Linked DNA regions of Homo sapiens: all the other regions are linked to region 4. The links are contacts of gene promoters, found by promoter capture Hi-C in blood cells and fetal thymus (Javierre and others, 2016). All regions are on one chromosome and are shown on one strand. The core of a region is centred on a gene start or on the middle of the fragment in contact, and the rest is flanking DNA. Distances in the headings are between cores, read along the strand shown.

Evidence for each region. The method cuts DNA at HindIII sites, captures the fragments that hold promoters and counts their contacts. A CHiCAGO score of 5 or more calls a contact.
Region 1: a fragment that was not itself captured here is called in contact with the fragment with the promoter of PEX10 in region 4 in 2 of 17 cell types (naive CD4 T cells and naive CD8 T cells); the score reaches 5.3 in naive CD4 T cells.
Region 2: a contact is called between a fragment that was not itself captured here and the fragment with the promoter of PEX10 in region 4, in 11 of 17 cell types (M0 macrophages, megakaryocytes, naive CD8 T cells and 8 more). The highest score is 7.8, in M0 macrophages.
Region 3: a contact is called between a fragment that was not itself captured here and the fragment with the promoter of PEX10 in region 4, in 1 of 17 cell types (neutrophils). The highest score is 5.0, in neutrophils.

What each region holds. Positions count from the first base shown.
Region 1 is chr1:2,831,733-2,835,856 of GRCh38, reverse strand. No RefSeq gene overlaps it. Among named protein-coding and RNA genes, the nearest start is that of TTC34, 32 kb to the right of the region's middle. The HindIII fragment of the contact is 6,524 bases long and covers 1-4,124 here.
Region 2 is chr1:2,794,522-2,798,311 of GRCh38, reverse strand. The region is part of intron 2 of TTC34 (tetratricopeptide repeat domain 34); the gene reads left to right. Among named protein-coding and RNA genes, the nearest start is that of TTC34, 5.3 kb to the left of the region's middle. The HindIII fragment of the contact is 5,722 bases long and covers 1-3,790 here.
Region 3 is chr1:2,114,632-2,118,831 of GRCh38, reverse strand. All of the region lies in intron 4 of PRKCZ (protein kinase C zeta), which reads right to left. Among named protein-coding and RNA genes, the nearest start is that of PRKCZ, 66 kb to the right of the region's middle. The HindIII fragment of the contact is 1,063 bases long and covers 1,202-2,264 here.
Region 4 is chr1:2,410,311-2,413,988 of GRCh38, reverse strand. PEX10 (peroxisomal biogenesis factor 10) reads left to right here and starts at 1,425. Exons shown (of 6, transcript NM_002617.4): 1 at 1,425-1,598; 2 at 3,538-3,618. The coding sequence starts at 1,487. RefSeq lists enhancers at 456-1,035, 1,036-1,616, 1,617-2,197, 2,198-2,778 and silencers at 700-1,299, 1,460-1,839. The HindIII fragment of the contact is 16,041 bases long and covers 1-3,678 here.

The sequences.
Region 1 (4,124 bases), core at 1,620-4,119, 420 kb before region 4:
CTGGCCGAGGGGGTTTTAGGGACTATATGGATTTTATTAGCAGGGTATAGGGTAGCAGAACTGGGGGGCCGAGTGGCCGCTGTGTGGGAGGGGGAGCTGCCCAGCCAGGTGTGGGACCACCACTGAGCCACTCTTGTTTGGACAATGACTTGGAAATTACCCCTGCTCGACGCTTGAAACCTTAAGGTGAGATTTAAAGGGACTGGGGGCATTGAGACCATTCTCAGTGGGGGCCACTTGATGTTTTTCCAGATGACCTCCTGGGTTCAGGGGGCCTCCGGCTTGAGTGTCTAATGACTCCCAGGGGCTGGCCCCCCACTCCTCCATTGTACAGTCCCTGCCCCAGCCCCACCAACCAGGCAAGTGTCCCAGGACCTGGCCTGGAAACCTGGGTCCAAACCCACTATCGTGGCTGTCAGAACCCGGGATCCCCGGGGCCTTGTGCCCCAGCCACACAGCTGGCTCAGCCAGAGAAGGCCAAGTTTCTAGAAGGCACTAGATGGTGGACTGCAGTGGGGGCAGGCGGCACTGGCTGCCGGGGCGAGGTCGGCCCTGGTTCGGGGCGAGGGCAGTGCACAGAGCCCCCTTTCTCCTCTCTGCCCACCCCATGGAACAGTGGAGACATGTCCAAGTTCTCCAAGGAGGTCTGCCTGTACCAGCTCCGGATCCCTGCGTGGCCGCACCTCCCGGCAAAGCCTCTTTGTCCACGGCTTCCTGGCAGGGCCCCTACTGCAGACTCCTGTTCTGTAAACACCTCACAGCCTCCGACCCCCGACTCCCTCTGGCTCCCACCTCCCCCTCCCACTCTCTGTACCCACAAACTTCCCCTGGGCACCCACTGTTCTGGGCACGCTGGCGTTTGGGGGAAGCACGCACAGGCCCGGCCCAGGGCCTGCCCAGGAAAAGCTGAGGCAAGGATGGCAATAACCGTCCTCCTAGCTCGAAGCGATGGCTGGGAAGTGGCCCGGCCCCTCCATGCCTGGTGTCCTTATCTCTAAGCGGGGAGGAAAGGTGTCCCCCTCAGAGGCTGTTTGGTGGAGCAGCGGAGATGCCACTGGGGTGAGGCATTTTTCCTGATATTTTCCCTGGGGCCGGGGAGGCATTCTCAGGGGCAGCCCAGAGCAGTGCGGTCAGCCCCCCAGAGCCCTGGGCCACACAGGACAGCGCTCAGGCCACTTCAACAGCGAAATCAGCAACAAGAAACGCACAAAGCAAGAAACACGTACTAAATCGACCTCGAGAAAGAGGCTTGCTTGGCACTGGGTACACGTCCGGGTGACCTCAGGGCACTGGGAGTATGTATTTGGAGACCACCCATAGCTTTCATCACATAGACAAATTGGTAAATGTGGAATCCGTGAATGAGGATCAACTGTACTAAAAACAAATCACTGAATTGTACGCTTTGAAAGGGTGATTGGTGACTTACACCTGGAATGCGACATACGACACGACGCAGCCCTGCCCCGAGAGCCGGGAAACAACCCAACACACCTGCAGTGGGAACGGAGACTCCTGGGGGCCCCACGGCACCGCTGCTCACCCCAGCACCTCCCAGATCCTGGGGCAGGAGCCACTGCTTCTCCATCAAACCCGCCCTCTGACCACTCCACAGCACAGTCCCCTTCGGGCGGCACACACAGGGAGGGCAGGAAGAGCAGGACAGGCACACCGAGGCAGAGCCCGAGGCTGGTTCCAGGGAATAGGTAGCATGGACACGGGGCTAGGGGAGGCGGTGAGGGGCTGGGAGGCAGGAAGACCTGGCAGAGGGAGCCCCCTGAGCACAGTCAGAGGGAGACATGGGGTGGAGTTGCATGGGATGAGGAGAAGCCCCGATGCCCGGGATGGCCCTAGTTTGCACTCACTGTCCCAGCCAACGAACAGCTTCCCCCACTCTCAAAAGCACCCCAGTCTCGGCAAACGATTCTCTGGCAATCCTGCAAAAGGGCAGCATGCATGGCTACAGCACAGTGCCGGGGTGCACGGTGGAGGGGAATAGGGCTCTCCCTCTTTCCGGGGGGGTCTTTAGCTGAAGGGGCTTCAGCCAAAACATGGACCCTGTTTCCTTCCCCACTGGAGGCAGAGGGGCCATACCTGGTCCCCCGGAGGCAGCAGCACCCTGCCTGCCATCTGAGAGACACCTGTGTTGCTTGTCTGACATCCGCTGTGAAGAGTCAGGGGAGCCTCGGTGCTGCCTGGGGAGGATGGCACAGGAAGCCCCAGTGGGGCAGCTTCCCGCCTTCGACTCTGCCCCCACCCTCTGCATCGCAGCACTCCCAGCACCTGGCCAGGATGGGAAAACATTGCAGACAGTCACCAGGGACCATCCTCTGCACGCGCTCCCTCCCGGCCTCGAGTGACTCTATTAGAGAGAGTATGTTTTATTAATATCAGATATTAAAGTTTAATACTGTGATTGCAGGGGAAAAATGGGACTTCACCTTCAAGGAGTATTAGCGGATTCCAAAGAGAGTCTGTGAGCGGGAGGCACATTTGTCACAGCTTTGCAGGATGGGCGCCCCCATCCATCACACCCTTGGTGAGCTCTCCACGCTGCTGGCGGTGGCCACGGGGTGAGTGTCGCGACCCCGTCTGGTGCTCCCACCGGGTCAGCTCCCACCCCAGGGGTCTGGGGCCACCAGGAGAGGAAGTGTAGGTGAGGCAGGGGCACCAAGACCCCAGAGAGGGGGCTACAGACTCTGCATCCTGCACCTCTGGGTATATGGCTGGGACAGAGGCCGACCCCCTTCACTGGCCCCTGATTTTATGCAGGGAGCTCTGTGGGGCCCCCTGGGGCCTTGCCTGAGCCCCCAGCCTGGAGCGTACATCCGTGGCCCCCAGTTCACCCTTGTGAGCCCCTCGGACCGTTCTCACCCCTGCATGCCTGCAATGGACAAGGGCCACCCTCTCCGCTCAGAAGCCCGGGACCAGCAGGGTGGGGCGGGTGAGGAGCCATGGTGGAGCCTCCAGAAAGGGGGCGGGGCTCACTGCAGGTTCCTGCCTTGCACTCCTTAGAACTCCTGAGCCTGGCAGTTGGGGTGGGAGCCCCAGACCCAGGCTGGAGGCCCAGCAGCGGCTCAGACCCAGCCCTTAGGCTCCTCCCCCATTCACACCATAGATACCTCCAGCCGCCCCACATGCAAATGCACAGGCCACGTCCGCCTCCGCTGGCTGCTCTCACTCCTCCCACTGGCTGCACTGGGCCTGGCTTCTCCTGAACTTTGGGCCTCCCCCCATACACCTTTCTTCTGCACCCCGTGCTGATCCATGCATGTTTATGGGGGCGATGAAATCAATGAACACATTTGGGAAGGTGCCGTTGGTAACAAAAAGAACTGGTGATCAGGCCGTCAGGCCCTGGGGGGACTGCACCCACACCCATCAGCTCATGATGGAGCCCTAGTCCTTCAGTGTGGCTGTAACAGAATACCACAGGCTGCGTAATTTACAAAGAACCGAAATGTCTTTCTAACCATTCTGGAGGCTGGGAAGTCCAAGACCGAGGTTTGGTGTCTGGTGAGGGCTGCATCCTTCAGAGGGGGACATGCTCATGCCAGGGTGGGCGAGCTCACCAAATGCTGTGGACTCCCAGTCGTGAGAGGAGGAGCCCTAATGGCCCAATCACCTCTTAAAGGCCCCTCTTAATGCCACCACATTGGCCATTGAGTTTCAACACCTGATGTTAGAGGGGACACAATCAAACCACAGCAGATGGCGAGAGCTGGGCTGGCTAAGAAAGGACTCAGTCGGCAGATGGGGAATTCCTGCCTCTCGCATCCACCCTCCCATCCCTCTGCATGTGGCAGACATCACTAATCAATCGCCACACTCACTGCTGCTCAGCCCAGACCCAGCTGGACCCTCTCCAGCACTGGCCAGGCAGCCATGCCAGTTGGTGAAAGTGGGTGTCCCAGAGGGAGTCCAGCCAGATGCCTGCCTTTTACATGGGACACAGAGGATGAGGCGGGGGGGAGGGCAAGCGGGAGTTCCTCAGTTTCCCCTCAGAAAGGAAACAAGACTGGCAGCTCTCACGTGGTGGTACTCAGGCACCCACCCCTGGGTCTCAGAGTCCAGTGCAGCACTGGGTACACAGCAGGTGCTCCCTACGTGCCTGTGGGTGGCCA
Region 2 (3,790 bases), core at 112-2,611, 380 kb before region 4:
GGCTGGGGAGCTGAGGGGCTGAGAGGCTAGGAGGCTGGGAGGCTGGGGGGCCGGGGAGCTGAGGGGCTGAGAGGCTGGGAGGCTGGGAGGCTGGGGGGCTGGGGAGCTGAGGGGCTGAGAGGCTGGGAGGCTGGGGGTACTGGGGAGCTGAGGGGCTAAGAGGCTGAGAGGCTGGGAGGCTGGGGGGCTGGGGAGCTGAGGGGCTCAGAGGCTTGGAGGCTGGGGAGCTGAGGGGCTAAGAGGCTGAGAGGCTGGGAGGCTGGGAGGCTGAGAGACTGGGAGGCTTGGATGCTGGGCAGCTGAGAGACTGGGAGGCTGGGACAATGGTTCAGGAGAGAGTTGATGGAATTCAGATCAGGGAGAAAGGGTTGCAGAGAAACCACATGTCTGAGAGTTAGAAGTGACGAGATTGTGGGTAGATTTAATGGTGGAGAGACAGGCACAGAGAAGGAGGGTCAGGAACGTTTTCTGAGTTCATGATGAGCAACTGAACTGTGGAGGGAAGCGCGGATGGGAAAAGGGGTGTCAGAGGTTTAGACGCCCCCAGTTTGAGACACTGCTCCTGCCCGGTCCCTTCACTGCCTCTTCCTTCTGGAGGAGCACCCAGGGCCACAGCCCAGCCTACTGCCAGCACTCTGCCACCCTCGGATCCCTGAGTGCCTGAGACGAGGCTGCGTCTCCACCCCAAAGGCTGCTGTGTGGATTCAGTAAACATGCACAGCAAACCCTTAGAATAATGTCACCTACTGAGTGCTTTACACACAGTCCTTTGAGCCCATCAAGCCTCATGTCATTAGGCAGCCAGACAGGTGAGCCCTGAGGTGAGAGGAGCTCAGTTTGAAAAAGGGGGGTTTAGGGTCAGTGCAAATGAGAGGTTGAAAGTCAAGGCTCCCGACAGAGGCAGGAAGTGGGGCCACGAGGCATCCTGGAGCAGACAGGACCTCCCTGGCGTGAGTGTCCTGCAAGGCACTGCGGCTCCCTGCCCTTTCCTCGTGCCCCAGCCCCCATCCCAGGCCAGCAGACATCTGGAGGTGAGGATGGCAGTATTAGCTGCCGTTTACTGAACAGCTAGTGGGTGGGCCCCATTTGATGGGTTTGATGTGCATAATCATGGAATCTGCAGAGCAGCCACCATCCCCATGAGACACGGGGCTGCCAAGGGCATACGGAGTGCAGGCAGCTAGGACCTGGCCCCTGGGGTGCTCCTAACCGCCCTCCATACTGTGCTTCTGGGGAGGAGCAGCCCAGGAGGACAGGAAGAAGGAAGAAAATTCGGAGCCCGTGGGGTGACGGATCAGGGCCAGAAGAGAAGGGGGTTTGCAAGATAAAGACAGGTAGGCAGCCCTGAGAGTGGCCACAATGTCCGTAAGGAGAGGACAAGGAGTGTGCGTTGGGCGTGTGGTGCCGAGGTTCTTGGTGACCCCAACGAGAGGGTGGGGCAGGAACCAGTTAGAGAGAGCTGCAAAGTGAGCAGGAAAATTTGTTTCTGGAAATATGCTCAAATATGTTGAGCATTACCAGAAAATGATCAACAAAGTCACACCGAATCGTGAGCTTCTGAGGAAGGAGGGGACCCCGGGTGCCCAGAGCACAGGCACTCAGGGGCTGGTGAGGACCATGCCCACAGCAAGGGGGCTCCAGGAGGGAGGGGGCCTTCCACTTTAATGATCACGCAGGGGCAGGGCATGACTTAAGGGTGTGGGTGGGGGTCACACTAAAGCTCTCTGCAGAAATCCAGAACCCCCCAAGTGTTGCAGGCTTGGGGAATGTGAGGGAAGACCCAGCTCCTCCAGGAAGGCCACCGGAAGCTCGTCTGTGTCTGCCGTGGCTCTGGTGTGTACAGGGAACACCTGCCCTAAGAATTGTGCATCCATTAGACCCAAGTCACTTCGGTCAAGGGACTCCCCACATCGCCAGCACCAGCACAAGCATGGCTTACGATGAGAAGAGAAGAAATGAATTTTCCTATAACAGACTTTTTACAGATGCAGTTTCCTGCAACAAATGACCTTCCATCTGGAGGTTACTTTCCAAAGTCCTTGGAAACATTGCACAAACCAGTCGCTCCATTTGTGCTGCTGTGACAGAATGCCACGGGCTGGGTGATCCATAATGAGTAGAAATGAATGAGCTCCAGTTCTGGACGCTGGAAGCCCAAAACCAAGGCCCCAACAGGCTTGGGGATTCGGATTCCAAGATGGCGCCTTGAATGCTGCATCCTCACTTGGCACAAGACAGAAGAGCAAAGAGGCGAAAGGGGCTGAACTTGCATTAATCCCACCCACAAGAGCAGAGCCCTCATGGCCTAATCATCTTCAAAGATCTGACCTGTCAATACCATTACAATGGCAGTTAAGTTTCAGCATGAGTTTTGGAGGGAACAAACATTCAAACTGTAGCAAAACCCTTCTATAATCTGGGAACTTTCTTTGCCCTCTTTAGTAAGTAGACATGCAGCGATACACGATGTATGAGGACAAGATACAGAATAAATACCACTTTCCCTCAAGGTAGCTGCTAAGTAAGCATCCAGGTACCATGGCTCCCTACGTGTTTGTCTTACCAAAGGACTGGGATGACCACTTCCAATTTGTTTAAGGTTCTTCATTAAGAGCGCTAGGAAAGGTGACAAAGCATAGCTGTGATTCCTGCTTTCCTCCCAGCAAGATGCAGGGTCTGTTCTCCGTACAGAATCTGGCATGGCCTTGTGCCTTGCTGGGACCAGTAGAATATGGTAGAAGTGATGGCTTGTGCTTCAGGAGCCCAAGCCTCAGAGGCCCCACGGCTTCCACCTTCACCTTGGAATTCTCCCAGGGCCATGTAAGGAAGCTGGAATCATGACCAGTGAGAGAACACACAGACAGAGGCTCAGCTGACAGCCATCACCAAGGCCCCGGACACATGAGTGAGGCCACCTTAGAGTCTCTTGTCCGGTAAAGCCACTGGATGGCTGCAGCCACCTGAGTGACCCCTGGTAAGACCAACAGAAGAACTGTCCAGCTTAGGCCAGCCCAAACTGAGGAATAATTATGGGCAAATATAAATGGTTGGATTTTCCTTTTTGAGACAGGGTCTTGCTCTGTCTCCCAGGCTGGAGTGCAGTTGTGTGATCATGGCTCACTGCACTCAATCTCCCAGGCTCAAGCAGTCCTCCTGCCTCAGCCTCCCAAGTAGCTGGGACTATAGGTACACACCATCACAACTGGCTAATTTTTTTTTTTTTTTGTAGAGATGGGGTCTCACCACGTTGCCCAGGCTTGATTGTTGTTTTAAGCCACTAAGTTTTACAGTGGATGGTTATGCAGGAATAGTTAGCTGAAATAACTGCTGACCAGGTCAAAACATCAGTTTTGATGCATTTTAGCCAACATTTCGTCAAATATTATAATATAGAACTTAAAATTTTATGTTTCCAGAATTATATAATTCACTACATTAATAATTAATGGAATAAAGAACATATTATCATTGCAGTAGATTCAGAAAAACTGTTTTATAATATTTCACATTCCCAGAATTTTAACAATCAAGAAACAGAAGAAAACTTACTTAATTGAAAAAGATAATATCTATCCCAAACCCACCATAAATATCATACTCAATGGTGACAATTCAGAAGCCTTCCATTTAAAATCAATTACGAGGAGGCTGTGCACTCTCCCAGTTACTCATCATTGTGCTAGAGATCCTAGCCAATGCAATAAGGTAAGAAAACAAGACAGAACATGTAAGACCAGAAAGGAAGTCACAAAGTTATAATTATTCCAGGCAATATGATTAGCTATGTATA
Region 3 (4,200 bases), core at 484-2,983, 300 kb after region 4:
ATACAGAAAAGAAAGTGAAAGGATGAAAAAATAGAGCATATAAACACTAAGTCCCCTTCCCTCCCTCCCCTCATCTCACACACACACACACACACACACACACACACACACACACACAGAGCTGGTGTGGTCACACTAACATCATACAGATCAGATGTTAATGACAATAATATTTTCATCTAAAGAGCAACATTTGGCCGGGCACAGTGGCTCACGCCTGTAATCCCAGCACTTTGGGAGGCCGAAGCAGGCGGATCAGGAGGTCAGGAGATCGAGACCATCCTGGCTAACACGGTGAAACCTCGTCTCTACTAAAAATATAAAAAATTAGCTAGGCGCGGTGGCAGGCACCTGTAGTCCCAGCTACTCAGGAGGCTGAGGCAGGAGAATGGCGTGAACCCAGGAGGCAGAGCTTGCAGTGAGTGGAGATGGTGCCACTGCACTCCAGCCTGGGGGACAGAGCGACACTCTGTCTCAAAAAAAAAAAAACAAAAACATTTCATGATGATAAAAGCATCAATCAAAAGGAAGATATGGCCAGGCATGGTGGCTCACACCTGTAATCCCAGCACTTTGGGAGGCCAAGGCGGGCGGATCACCTAAGGTCAGGGGTTCAAGACCAGCTTGGCCAACATGGTGAAACCCTGTCTCTACTAAAAATACAAAAATTAACCAGGCGTGGTGGCACACACCTGTAATCCCAACTACTCAGGAGGCTCAGGCAGGAGAATCGCTTGAACCAGGGAGGCGGAGGTTGCAGTGCGCCCAGATCGGGCCACTGAACTCCACTCCAGCCTGGGTGACAGAGTGAGACTCCAAAAAAAAAAAAAAAAGAAATAATAGGCTAATCTCTCTCATAAATACAGTTGCAAAAACAACAAACAAAATAATAGCAAACTGAATCAAGCAAAATATAAAAAGGCGAACTCATCACAACCAAACGAGGCACACTACAGGAATGCCATCGGTCTACCATTAAGAGCCAATCCATAGAATTCATCGTATGAACAGAATAAAGGAGAAAAGTTCTGTCACATCAATAGATGAAGGAAAAAAAGCATCTGAAAAAATTCAGCACCATTCATATTAACAACTTTCAACTAGGAATAAAATAGAACCTCTTTAATTTGTTGGTGGGGATTTACGAAGGAAAAACAGTATTTCCGCAAACAGCACCCTTAATGGTGGAATTCTTAAAGCTTTTCCCTGAAATCAGGCACGAGAGGATGTGGCTGTCACCACTTCTGTCCCATACTGTTTTGGAAGGATCAACAGTGCCAGGGTAACAAGGCAACATCTGAAGGAAAGGCAGAAACAAACAGCCGGTCACTGACAAAATGGCAGCGCACAGAGAGGTTCCGGAGCAACCACAGACAAACTACGGGGACCAGGAGAGGCCAAGACAAATGAGTTAATCACACTTCTTTACACATTGCTATAAACAAAAAGATAAAAAAAAAAAAACTGTAAAAGTAATACGGCTTAAAACAGCATAAGCACTGAAATACCAGGGAATCATTTGAACAAAAAATGTGGATGACCGCTACACACAAGACTACAAAATATTATTGAAAGAATTTAAGGCCGGGTGCAGTGGCTTGCATCTGTAATCCCAGCACCTTAGGAGGCTGAGGCAGAAGGACCACTTGAGCCCAGGAGTTCAAGACCAGCCTGGGCAACATAGGGAGACCCTGTCTCTACAAAAAAATGCCAAAATAGCTGGGCATGGTGGTGCACACCTGTAGTCCCAGCTACTTGGGAGGCTGAGGTGGGAGGATTGCTTGAGCCCAGGAGGTCAAGGCTGCAGTGAGCCATGATCATGCCACTGCACTCCAGCCTGGGCAAGAGTGAGGTCCTGTCTGCCCCCCGCAACTCCCCTGCCAAAAAAACCCCAATCAAAGGCCTAAAGATATGTTCACGGATTGGAAACCTCAGTATTGTAAAGATGCTAATCTCCCATACTGATCAAGAAATCCAAATGCAATCCAAATGTCTTATGGAGATTTTGAAAGCAAATAAGCCAACTGTAAATGGCTTATTAACAAGCCCATGTGTATGGAAATGTAAAAAGCCAATAACCAAGATAACCTTGAAAACTAAAAACCCCAAATTGGAGACTCATAACACAAGTTACCAATGGTGATTATAAAGCAGAAGAAATCAGAACAGTACGACATGGGGGCAAAAAACAAAGGGGACAGATCAGTCCAGAAAGAGGCCCCACACACAGCCAGGACGCAAAAGCCCTAATTATAAAGTAAGCTTTTACTTTCTGTTCATCAGAAGACACCATCCATGGAGTGGAAGGCGAGCCGCGGAGTGACAGAAGCTGTTTGCAACACAAAAAATCAAAGCACTTGTCTCTAAAACACACACAGCCCCCAGGAACCAACAAAAAAGACGGACCCCCCAATGACATTGTTCTTTGACAGCCCAATTTTGAAATGGGGCAAAAGACTGGAACAGGCACCTTTAAAAGGAGGGTCCCCAATAACCCGGGAGCCTCGGAGAAGCAGCTCACCTCAGCCGTCGCGAGGCCACAGCCTAGTGCCTTTCAGATCTGCTGTGCTGGCGACAACGCAGGGCTCTGACAGTCCATGTGCTGGAAGGAGGTGCATCGGGAATTCCCACACGACCCAGAGTGACTGTGCCATCAACACAGATTCAGCCTTTGTCTCAGTTTCCCAGCGCGCAGCCCCTCTGACCCTAGGAATCCTGGAGTGCGGTAAGAGTGTCTTTTTGCATGCTAATGAGATGACGGGGAGCCGGGAGCCGGGACAGCTCCAGGATGCGGCTGGTCTTCAGCAGGACCAAGGAATGCCTAGCGGGTTGGAACTTTCCGTCCCACAGCCCACGGTCCAGAGAGGAGACAGGAGAGACTGAGGTAATCAGCAGTGGCTGGCTGTTGAATCAACCGTGCCTGTCACGAAGCCTCCACAAAAAGCCCTCAATGACATGGTCTGGAGAGTGTCCGAGTTGGTGAATATACCAAGGTGCTGGAGGGTGGCGTGCCTGGAGAGGGCACGGAAGCTCTGCACCCCCCATACCTCAGCCTCCCGTGCAGCTCCTCCGTGTGGCTGTCCTTTCTAATAAACGGGTACACTAAGCAAAGTGTTTTCCTGAGTTCCGGGAGCTATTCTAGCCCACCCGAGCCTCAGGAAGGGGTCACGGACACCCCCGATTCACAGCCAGTTGGTCAGAATCCAGGTTGTCACCTGGCACTTGCAGCTGGCTCTCAAGTAGGGGCAGGCTTGTGGGAATGAGCCCTTCATCTGCAGGGTCTGCGCTAACGTCAGGTAATTGATGTCAGAGCTGAATGGAAACACAGGACACCCAGCTGGCGCCAGAGTGGCTGTGGGTGCAGAAAACCCCACATAACTGGAGGCAGAAACACAGTGCAGAGTGCGACCTGGTGCGGCCACGCGAGGGAAACGTCTGTTTCCCGGAAACTCCACTCCTGGGTGTGCCCACATGAAAGATGCGCCACGGGCAACAGAAGGCGCTCGGATGTCTGTGGCCAAAAGCCGGGACCCCGGTGCCTCGCAAGATGAGGGTGGATACATAAGACGTGGAGAATTCAGCCAGCAGAGCAGCCCCGCAGTGGGGACGGACACGGCAGAACCGCACCCCACACCACGGGAAAGCCCCACACAGGGGCCCGACTGAGCGGCCACACCCAGGGTGGATGGCCCCGGATCCCAAGACAAAAGCTCGAAACAAGCAAAACTATCTGCAGGCACCAAGGCCGGGGACGGGTAGGTTACGCCTGGGGTCACCTCGGGGTGTGGGGGTGGCCCCGCGTCCAGAGGACAAGCTACACACGGATCAGCTATGTGACGCGGTGCAGTTTGCTTTGTAAAAACTCGTGGAGTTGAACGCTTCAGATTTCATGTTTTAGGGAGTTTTGTTTCAATTTTAAAAAGTCAAGAAAGAAAAAGAAATCAGAGAATGGAGGCACCCAGGCCGTAACATTCTTTCCATAAGAAAAGCTGAAACCCAACGGCAGGCGGCTCCACCTGCTGCATCTTAGCTTTTTCTTTTTCTTTTTCTTTTTTTTTTGAGACGGAGTCTCGCTCTGTCACCAGGCTGGAGTGCAGTGGCACGATCTCGGCCCACTGCCACCTCCACCTCCCGGGTTCAAGCGATTCTCCTGCCTCAGCCTCCCGAGCAGCTGGGACTACAGGTGTCCACCACCACACT
Region 4 (3,678 bases), core at 176-2,675:
CTGTGTCCAGGAGACACGGGTGCACCCGCGGGGTCAGAACTCCAAAGGGGCGCGGGGGCGCTGGGAGGTTTGGTAGCCAGAGGGCCTGCGGGGCGGGGCCACCCAGGCCATGCCCCTTCCCTGTAAGAGGGGCCATTCCTGCAGTGTGGGGCTCTGGCTTTGTGACTGGGCTGTGCCAGTCTGGGGATGATCCCACAGCTGAGCTCCTGTAGATGGAACCAGAGGTGAGGCAAGGAACTGGAGGCCCTCCCCACTGAGGTCAGCGGGGCGCAGACGCCCCCTTGTCGTGCCCTGCCTTCCTCCTGCAATCCTGCAGGACTCTCCAGGGCCAAGTGCTGCCCTTGGGGCCAAAAAACAGGGCCTTCTCCTTCACCTGCCCTGCAGCCATTCAGGTATGTACCAGGCATCTCCTGCCCTCCCTGGCCAGGCGGCCCCAGAGGCACAGGCCGCAGACACCGCAGGCGACCTGCGTGGGCCTCCAGTTCCCGCCCCAGCCCTTCCCACCCCCAGCTCAGGGCAGGTCCAGCTGTGGCCAGCGGCTGGGGAAGGTTCTGTCCCCTCCAGGTGTGCGGCCTTGGCAAGTGCTTCAGGCCTCCCTCCGCTCGTCCCCTGGGAGCAGAGGGATCGGAGCGCCTGCGATGTGGTTCCCCAGAGCACCTGCGGGGCTCAGGCCAGGCAGGGTGGAGGGTGGAGGGTGGAAGGCCACCTTCCGCCCGTCCTGGAACCACGCGGCGGCTTCCCGGCTGCCCCCCACCCGCCAGGCCCTGCCTCCCGTGGGCACCAGGGGGGCGTCCACACCAAGCCGGCCGTGTGCTTTTCGCGCAGGATTACTGGGGAAGGCGGCTGCTCGGGGCCTGGAAGGTCCCGGGTCTCGCCTCGTGCCCCTCTGGCCCCCAAACCGACCGGCTCCCCGGAACTGGCCAACCCGCGCTGAGAGCCCGCGCAGCTCAAAGGGCGCGAGGGCGGGACCGCCGCGGCCGGCGCTGGGAGCTCGGCTTCCCGAAGACCCAAGCGAAAGCCTCCGTCTCCCCAGCCGTAAATGGGCCTGCAGCGTCTCCACTCCGCAGCGCTGTCCCCAGTGGGAGGGCGGCCCGTGGACGTGCAGGGAGCAGAGCAGGGGCCCCTGGCAGCGTAGGACCCCGAGGTCGCAGCAACCACGCGGCCGCGAGCCCATCCCGCTGCCTCGCCAGCGCCCCTCGCGCGTGCCCCGCCCCCACCTCGGCTCGCGGGCCCCGCCCCGCTCCGCTCCGCCCTGCGCCTCCGACTACCTTCCCGCTGCCCCGCCCCGCGCTGCGCTGGTTCGGACTCCAGCCCCGCTTCCGCCCGGGCCCTGGCCCCGCCTCCAGCCCCAGTCCGGCCCCGCCCCAGCACCTTGACGCAGAGGTCTGCGCCGCACGCAGAGCCACGTCGTGCCGTCATCAGTTCTCGCCCGTCTGGGCGTGGGCGTGGCCGGCGTGGCTGCTCGGGACCACCCGAACCCGCGGCCATGGCCCCGGCCGCCGCCAGCCCCCCGGAGGTGATCCGCGCGGCGCAGAAGGACGAGTACTACCGCGGTGGGCTGCGGAGCGCGGCGGGCGGCGCCCTGCACAGCCTGGCGGGTGAGGGCCGGGCGCGGCCGGACGTCCTCGCGAGCGGCCCAGGGGGTGTTGCCCCTCATGGAGGCGGGGTGTCTGCCGTGTGTGGTCACGGTCGCCTGGGCCCGTCCCACAACCTGGGACCCGGCAGTCTCCTTCGCCTGCCCTGCGGCCATTCAGGGATGTGCGGGGCACCTCCTGCCCTCCCTGGCCAGGTGGCCCCAGAGGCACAGGCCGCAGACACCGCGGGGGACCTGCGTGGGCCTCCAGTTCCCGCCCAAGCCCTTCCCGTCCCCAGCTCAGGGCAGGTCCAGCTGACGCCAGCGGCTGGGGAAGACTCTGTCCCCTCCAGGTGTGAGGCCTTGGCAAGTGCTTCAAGCCTCCCTCCGATCCTCCCCTGTGAGCAGAGGGGTCAGAGCGCCCGCGGCGCGAACGCCTCATACCTCGGTCCGGTTCACACTGACCCCGGCCTTTCCTAGGCCTGAGCAGCAGCCCAGGCCCCTCGCCCTGCTGACCCCAGTGTAGGCTCAGCCAGGCCCTGCCTGCCTCACCAGGCCGGGAGCTGAGTACAGAAGCCAGTGTACTCAATGAAGCAGCACCTGTCATCCCAGCAGTTTGGGAGGCAGAGGCGGGAGGATCGCTTGAGCCCAGGAGTTTGAAACCAGCCTGGGCAACATGGCAAGACCCCGTCTCTACAAAAAATCTGAAAATTAGCCGGACGTGGTGGCGGCGTCTGTAATCCCAGCTCTTCAGGAGGCTGAGGCAAGAGAATCGCCTGAGCCCGAGGGATGAGGCTGCAGTGAGCCATGATTGTGCCGCTGCACTCCAGCCTGGGCGACGGGGCCAGACCCCATCACCGATTAAAAAACGAAAAAAAAAAGATGCCGGGTGTGGTGGCTCACGCCTGTAATCCCAGCACTTTGGGAGGCCGAGGCGGGTGGATCACTTGAGGTCAGGAGTTCGAGACCAGTCTACACAACATGGTGAAACCCCGTCTCTACTAAAAATACAAAAATCAGCAGGGCGTGGTGGCGCGTGCGTGTAATCCCAGCTACTTGGGAGGCTGAGACAGAATCACTTGAACCCGGGAGGCGGAGGTTGCAGTAAGCCAAGATCGTGCCACTGCACTCCAGTCTGGGCAACAGAGTGAGACTCCATCTCAAAAAAAAAAAAAAAAAAAAAAAGGCAAAGCCATCAAGTCTTTGGGGGGTGGGGCAGGCAGTCGTTAAAGGCATGAACTCCCAGCAGAACGTTTCAGGGAGCAGTGGCACTAGAGCCCAGTGGTGGGGGTGTCGTGGCCAAAGGAACAGTGCCATGGGACAGGAAGAGCATGGGTAAATATCAGAGGACAGCCAGGCTCCGTGCCGGGAGGCCCATGGGTGTCAGGTGGGCAGCCATTGGTGGATTCTGAACAGGAGAGTGACATGATGAGAATTTTTTGTGTGTGTACTTACTTGTTTTACAGTACACTTGGCACTTACCCCTGTGCCAGACACTGTTCCCAGTGTTTTACAAATATTGAATCTTCAAACATCCCTCCAAGTAGGACTTATTACTCTTCTGATAGATGAGCAAATTGAGATTCCAGAAAGACCTCACAGCCAGCAAGTTGGAGAGCTGCTTTTTGATGCTAGACAGTTGGCCTCTGGCCTGTAATCTTAATACCCCAGACCATCTTTCCATGTGGCCCTCATAGGCCCTAGAACAGTTGCTCAGGGGAATCCCGGAGCAAGAGATGAGCACAGGTGGGAGATTCTTCGCAGACTGTCTGCAGCTCACGCTAAGGCAAGTCAAGGTGGTGCCTCCGGAGACAGAAGCAGAGAGGGAGGCCAGGGAGTGAGTGTTGGCTTCATGGAAGGGGTGGGACTGGATCTGGGCCTAGACAACTGGGGGAGGACTGTGGTCCCTCATCCTCAGAGGATGCCCACCAGCTCCCCCGGACTAATACTGTTTCTCCTCTCAGGTGCGAGGAAGTGGCTGGAGTGGAGGAAGGAGGTTGAGCTGCTCTCAGATGTGGCCTACTTTGGCCTCACCACACTTGCAGGTAGAAGCTCCCACGGGACCTCAGGACTGAGGGCAGCCACACACACCAAGTCTGGGGACG